Regions from separate parts of the Homo sapiens genome. Here region 1 is linked to region 2. Evidence: promoter capture Hi-C in human tissues and cell types (Jung and others, 2019). All regions are on one chromosome and are shown on one strand. The core of a region is centred on a gene start or on the middle of the fragment in contact, and the rest is flanking DNA. Distances in the headings are between cores, read along the strand shown.

The links. The method cuts DNA at HindIII sites, captures the fragments that hold promoters and counts their contacts. A contact is called where the count stands out against the background at its distance.
Region 1: a fragment that was not itself captured here is called in contact with the fragment with the promoter of DNAJC19 in region 2 in 1 of the 25 tissues and cell types used here (hippocampus).

The regions. Positions count from the first base shown.
Region 1 is chr3:181,168,217-181,172,020 of GRCh38, forward strand. The region is part of intron 2 of SOX2-OT (SOX2 overlapping transcript); the gene reads left to right. Among named protein-coding and RNA genes, the nearest start is that of SOX2-OT, 110 kb to the left of the region's middle. The HindIII fragment of the contact is 4,390 bases long and covers 51-3,804 here.
Region 2 is chr3:180,988,012-180,991,950 of GRCh38, forward strand. It overlaps DNAJC19 (DnaJ heat shock protein family (Hsp40) member C19), which reads right to left and starts at 1,725. Exons shown (of 6, transcript NM_145261.4): 1 at 1,589-1,725; 2 at 167-218; 3 at 12-85. The coding sequence starts at 1,591. The HindIII fragment of the contact is 9,710 bases long and covers 1-3,939 here.

The DNA.
Region 1 (3,804 bases), core at 996-3,495, 180 kb after region 2:
AACATCCATCCATGACACTCTGGCAATCTTACTTGTTATCTCGCAAGCAGGCCCTTCACAGTTTTTGACAGACATCTAGATAAACTATGAAACAATATTTGTGAATCTGACCTTAGGAAAATGAAGCTACTTCTCTTCTTCAATGATGGAACTCTGCAGCCTTTGTGTTCTCCCATCTGAAACAAAATATCTATGGACCTAGGATTTCAAAACCAAGGGTGTATTCAGGGTTGACTTGGGGGTGGCCAGTCCCACAAAGCTTTTCTCTTTTTCACCAGAAAAGACTCTTAACTTCCTCTCAGGCTAAAGCAGGTTTAGATTTGAAGGTCATAAAGGCTTAGCTGATAGTTTATTATTATTATTTCTACCTTTATACAGCTTCTATTCTGGTAAAGGAGATAGATGCCAAATAATAAACATAATATACAAGTAAAGTATATATAATAGTTTAATAAATTTTATAGAGAAAAGCAATGAAGAAAGATACTCCTTTGTAGGGAGTGGGGAGTGGGATATTCCATTTTTATTTCCAAATTAAAATAAGTAATTAGATTTTCAATGTTATTTTGTCATATTAAAAATTGCAATCAACTGCACAGCTACAATCATAACTACTGTTCCTGAGTGTCTACAGTATGGCAGATGTGGGCTAGATATTATATTTATTTATCATACTAATACAAATATAGCACACTTACTATGCTACAAATAATATGTTAAGCACTTTATGCAATGTTACCTCGCCTATCTTACCACACAGAAAGTGAAATAGAATATCCCTATTTTTCAGAGGAAAAAGTTAAGACTCTGTGAGGTTAGGAAAGTTGTCCAAGGTGACACAGTCCTTAGGGACAAAATAGGAAATCATAATTGAAGTCAGTCTGGCTTTGAAGCTCACAGCTGTTTCCTAGAACCTGTATCACCGTCAAAAGTGTGATTCTATCCTTTGTTTCTCCTGCCTCAACACCAGGAGCTATTTGTCTTTTTCTGAACGTATTTTATTAATGCTATCATTTATTCTTTTTTTTTTTTTTTTTTTTTTGAGACAGAGTTTCACTCTTGTAGCCCAGGCTGGAGTGCAATGGCACAATCTTGGCTCACTGCAACCTCTGCCTCCTGGGTTCAAGCGATTCTCCTGCCTCAGCCTCCTGAGTAGTTGGGATTACAGGCGCCCGCCATGACATCCGGCTAATTTTTTGTATTTTTTTAGTAGAGACGGGATTTCACCATGTTGGCCAGGTTGGTCTTGAACTCCTGACCTCAGGTGATCCACCCACCTCGGCCTCCCAAAGTGCTGGGATTACAGGTGTGAGCCACTGCGCCCAGCCTCATTTATTATTTCATTCAACAAAAATGCATTGTGCTGAGTTGATTTTCAAAGATGGAGAAGTTATAGGCCCTTCCATGAAGGATCCTGTGGTCTGATGGGGAAATAGACATACAAAAATTTACTTTTGTAAAATCCAATTCATTTTATAATAGAGGTATGAATGCCATGGCAAAGCTCTGAAGCCCTTCTGATGTAATCTCTGAATTTAGAGAAGTCAAATGCCTCAAGCTTTTTGTGGTTGTTACCTTCACTCAGAAATGCATTTTAGATCATGACCAATATGCATGCACACACACATACAAGTGCAGCAAAATTGTTATTAAAAACGCTTATGCCTAGTACAGACATTGTATTCTGATATTTTCAAGTTTTTATTCTTCTCTTGAAAGAAAACCTGCCTCGGCCTCCCAAAGTGCTGGGATTACAGGTGTGAGCCACCAAATCTGTTCACATACCAATCTGTCTCTCTTCCAAGGCCTGTGGATACATACAGTGCCATTCTGCAAATTAACAAATGATGTCCCCTCTGGACAGACGAATTACAAAATGACATCCCTTCCTCCCACCTGTTGAAGTCCAGCCCCAGGGCATGCAACTCAGTCAGCATAACTCCTGACTGAAGTTTACCCCCATTTGCCCCTCTGGTATCTGGGTGAAGTGTACAAATTGCACAGCTGACTGCATATAGCAGCCCTTCCCTTTTTTCCCTCCCTTGCTGCCTCTCCCCTTCATTTCTCTCTTTATCCTCTCCCTTTCCCTCCCCTCCCATTTTTTCTCCTCTCCTTTTTTCCCTTTTCTTTAATTCTGTTATACTGGATGATAATAAAATAAAATAATTGAGGAGTTTAGGAAACAAGATTTTTATATTCCTTTTTGGAATTGTAGTAAAATATACAAAACATAAAATTTACCATTTTAACAATTTTTAAGTATACAACTTGTGGCATGAAGTACATTCACATTGTTGTGCAATCACCACTACCATCCATCTGCAGAGCTTTTTCATCTTTCCTAAATGAAACTCTGTTCCTATAAAACACTACCCCTTCATTCCCTCCTCCAAGTCCCCAGAAGCCACCATTCTACTTTCCGTCTTTATGAATTTGACTGCTCTAGGTACCTCGTATAAGTGGACTCATACCATAGTTGTCCTTTTGTGAGTAGCTTATTTTACTTAGAATAATATCTCCGAGGTTCATGCATGTTGTAGGGTGTGTCAGAATTTCCTTACTTTTTAATGCTAATATTCCCTTCTATGTATATACCAAATTTTGCTTATCCATTCATCCATTGGTGGACTTTTGGGTTGCTTCTACCTTTTAGCTATTGTGAATAGTGCTGTTATGAACACTGGTGTACAGATATTTGTTTGAATCCCTGCTTTCAGTTCTTTTGGGCATATACACAGAAGTGCAATTGCTGAATCATATGGTACTTTCATGTTCTTGACCTTTGCTTTTTATGAATTGAAGTTTCTTGAAAAGTCTAGCTTTGATACGTTTTCCTTCAACAAAGACATAATACACATGTAATTCCTGTACTGAGTAATCCAAATTGAGTTCACTCTTCTCCACCTTTAACTTTGCCCTGTTGCATTCCTGACTGTTAATGATACCTTGGAAGATTCCATAACTTCCCAGACACTTAGTTACTAAAGACTAGTACAGTCTAATTAAAACACTCTAGGCTCTCCTCCTCTCCACTGTTTCCCTGAACCCTGGATCAGGTTTGACTGAGGAACAAGGAGGGGTGGGAGGATAGGGTCTGCTCTCCCATCAACCTCCCTTCCTGCCCCCAGGTTCTAGCTCCCCTGTGGGTAGGAAGAAAGGAAGGGACAAGTGCTTACTTATTACCCCCTTTTAAAAGAATTCACATAGAGAGTCCCTTTGTTAGATGCAACCTAGTCTCTCTATTTAGACACTCCTGCAATTGATTAGATCACTACTTGGACCTTGTTACTGAGATTTCTTATGATTTGTCCGTTTTGTCTGTTGCTCCTAATTGATTGGACTGAAGCTGTTGGTTTTGCACACAGCCTGTATAAGTTGATTTTTACATTTATCTTTTCAGAAGGCTAACTCTTGGTTTCATTGATTTCTCTAACCTGGACATATTGGCATATACATATCTTTCCAAGTTCATTCCTGAGTCATTTTTCTGAATTCTCCATTGTCAAAATGCCTTTGGTAACCCATATGCTGATAGCTTCTTAGGTCAGGAAATTTTGTGAATCCAATATATTTGGATTTTCCTTCTTTAAATTTTAGAATTTAAGCTTACTTCCCAGTTCTGGAAGTACAGCTCATTTCCAGATCTTAGTGCTGAGCACCAGAGTGAATTTTGGCATAGATTCTGACTTTATGCTACACTGTATGCTACACATACAGTGCTATCAAATAGAGGTAGGCCAGGTTACAGGGAAACCAAACAGCATACAGTGCTATGAAATGGTGCACCTACTGCAACTCCTTCTT
Region 2 (3,939 bases), core at 475-2,974:
CAAAGTCTTACAGATTTTGGTAGGCTTTGAAAAACTTGTTTTACTTGAGGCTCCATATGCTTCATGGCTTGCAAAACGTAACGGCCTAAAACCAAAAGCAACAGAATAAGTAAACTAAATCTCCAATCTCCCCGACTTCACTTCCATCCCCAAACCATAAACAAACCTGCAAATCCTGCAGCAGCAATGGTCAGTCCAACTGCTACCACTGTACTGGCCTGGTAAGGGGGAGAAGAGTAAATATTTACTTCTCTAATTCCCACCCTTTCTCATTTTGCCCATTCTTCCATCCCCAACTCATTACAAACTGCATTTTAATAGGAGAAACAACTTTTTTTTTTCTTTTTTTTTTTTTTTTTTTAAGAGACGGAGTCTTGCTATGTTGCTTAGGCTGGTCTTGAACTCCTGGCCTCAAGCAATCCTCCCACCTTGGCCTCCCAAAGTGCTAAGATTATAGGCATAAGCCACCATGCCTGGCAGAGAAACAACTTTTAAGGCGGAAATATTCTGTCCAGTAATCTTTAAAACTACTGCATCTGTTATGCTGAATGCATTAAAGTTACAGGATTCATCATATGGGAAAGAGGGCAAGTTCGACTTGCTTATTTATCTTTACAATAGTGAAAAAGATGATTCCCTCCCTTTGAAAACTTCTTTCATCACCAGACAAATTAAGTCACATTAAAGTTCAATCAAAAGTAGTGGAAATAGGCCAGGCGCGGTGGCTCACGCCTGTAATTCCAGCATTTTGGGAGGCGAGGCGGGCGTATCACTAGGTCGGGAGATCGAGACCATCCTGGCTACCATGGTGAAACCCCGTCTCTACTAAAAATACAAAAAAAAAAAAAATTAGCTGGGCGTGGTGGTGGGCGCCTGTAATCCCAGCTACTTGGGAGGCTGAGGCAGGAGAATGGCGAACCCGGGAGGCGGAGCTTGTAGTGAGCCAAGATTGTGCCACTGCACTCCAGCCTAGGCGACCGAGCAAGACTCTGTCTCAAAAAAAAAAAAAAAAATGTGGAAATAAGGTTTCTGCTACAGAAGGAAAAACTGTTTACAGACGGCTCCTGTAAAATTCTAACAACGCATTTTCGAGGCTAAACGTGGGCTAAACTAGGAGACTAATACCTTTGGCACTGCCCTGTTGTTTCCTAACAAGACAGGCCCAAATATGTTCAGGAAGCATGGAGAAGACATCTGTCAGCAAAAGCCAAAGAGAAGGACATAGCAAAGTGGAGCTAGTGCTGTGAAGATGTGTTAGGGCAAGGGCACTTATAATCAAATACGTTTCCACTAATCTCCGAGTCCATGACAGCCTCTGACCTTACAGGAGTTCCAGGCAAGCAACACCTGCAGAGCCCGTGCGGACAAGAAGCTGGAGAACCGTGCAGAAAGACGATGTAAAAACACAAACCCCCAAGAGAGCGAGCCAACAGGGTTGTGTCCTGGTGAGTGTGACTCCCCAATAACCGAAACCTCCCGCCCGCAGTCGCACTAAGGAGCACAACTTCAACTCCACACCTCCGAGGCGGGGAGCTGAGGTTGAGGCCTGGGCCGGAGGTCGCCAAGAAGACCGGAAGGCCGCACTCACCATGGCTCCGGCTGGGCTCCCTTGCTTCCACCGGGAGCACGGCTCATCCCAGCTCAGAGGCCGCGGCCAACACCTGCACGCCTTTACCAGAGAGCGACGCAACCCCCAACCTCAAGCACAGGCGCCCTACGCAACACGGCAGGAGCAGCCGCAAACTAGGCCGGAAAACTGTCGTAAAAGGGGACGCGGAGGAGAAGGAAAGTCGCTCAAGCAGTGGACAGAGCGGAGAAAGCGACTTCGGGTTGGTTGAAGGGTGGGCGGATCTCTTTATTTCTGGGTGTAGGGGTGGGGCTTCTCTGTGTTTTCTGTCCTTTGCTCCTGGGCGGTGGGTATTTGGAAATTCTTGCAGGGAAGGGCATGGGCAGCCTTACTCAGACCGATTTTTTCCCCCTACATCTTAGCACCTCGTTTTGCCTTTATTTTATGTTAATAATTGTCAAGGGTAATGAATGTAGTTAAACATGCTGTGACATTTCCACCACGAACCCAAACAAATATGTTGTAACCCAGTGTAGGAAACGAGATGCCCAGAAAAACAAATGAAACCAACCACACTGTGTTTCAGGGATTGCTCGGTAGCATTTTTTAATGTAAAAGAACTTCATTTAAGGATGTGACTTGACAAGACTTTGTGAATATTTGGGTTTTCGTTTTGTAGAATGGGATTAAAGACAGTTCATATTCTGAACATGGAATGTCAAGATCCTACAACTGAAAAGGGCTATTTAAAAGTTTTCCTCCTCACCCAAAATAAAAAGTAGGGCTGGATTTTGCCCTTACGTGGACATCAGTTTCATACATCCCTACATAAATGCTTGAGAAGAAAAAAATAATGGAGACAATAATGGAATTTTACAATGCAACGTTTGCATGATCAAAATAAGTTTGGAGTTACTTCCCACTCAGAATTTACAGTGTTAAATATCCGTTTACATTGCAATGCAATTCTGCTTTGATGAGTTTGTTAGTTATTAAACAAATATGCAAAATTTTTGGGTTTGTTTTCCTCATCTGTAAAAGCAGTTTGCATTTGATAATCCAAGAGCTCTTCTAGCGCTAAGGTTTTTGTGATGTAATTTATTGTCAACACATGATTTAAGGTGACATCCAGCACTAAGACACTAGCATTAAGTTTATAACTTCCTCTTTTGCCTCTCTTTTATCTGGTTTTTACCCAACAATTACAAAATAAATAATCAAGTGAGGCATAAGACCTTGGGACCAAATTGGCATCAACAAGCTAGAATGCTATCTGGAAAAATTTATTATGCATATTTTTGGTATGTACAAACTGTGTAATGCAGTTTCTGGAGGAATAGATTTACAGTAGACTCTAATTAGCTTTGAGACTTTACAAAACCCAGACTCAGGAAATTGGGAGTAGCAACACAGCAAGACATTTTGTTGAGCTGGAGATAGCTCTTTTTTTGGTGGCAGATCAAACTGGAGGTAACCTGGCTCTGTCACTTACTAATACTGTGACTTGGAAAAGTTATTTCTGATTGAGTTTCTTCCTCATTTGTAAAATGAAGGTAATGATAACTACCTTGCCGAGTTTTTGTGAACGTAGAGATTATGCACATATTGTGTTCTGCTTATGGTCATCACTCAGTGTGGGGCTATTATTATGAGGGAAGCCAGAGTGCAAATTGGAGTGTAGAAGCCTTCCTCATTCTCATGATACCTCACTCATGAATCTTAAGTCTGGTTGCCTCTTACCTACCTGCCAAGATCCTAGAAACAGCCTTGAAAAGTAATCTTTTTAAATGTCCACTGACTGATGAATGGATAATCATTCCTCATTTCTTCTAGCTTCTGGTGACTGCCAGCATTCCTTGACTTGTGACTGAATCACTGCAGTCTTGTAAGCCAGCATCTTGAAATCTCACTCTGCTCCAACTTTTCCATCTTCACATTGTCCTTCTCTTCTGTTTGTAAAATCTCCTTCTGGTTTCCTCTTAAAGGATATATGTAATTGCATTTACCAGCTACCCAGATAATCCAGGATAATCTCCCCTTCTTAAGATCCTTAACTTAATCATAGTTTCCAACACTTTGCCATATAAGGTAACATTCACAGGTTCCAAGTATTAGGACCTGAAATCTTTGGAACACATTATTTAGTTTACTATAGAAAGTAATAAAAGACAAAAGAGGGGGTAGGGACAAAAGAATGAGAAAGGACTCAAGCACATCTTCTTAGTTTCTCATCCCAAATTTTTAAATCAGGTAAGTCACTTCTCCTTGGGAAGAAATAAGTGAGAGTTGAGAGCGGTAGCTAAGAGTGTTCTTGCACTGTGGCTTTCAAACATTTTTTGACTGTCATCCTTAGTAAGAAATATATTTTACAC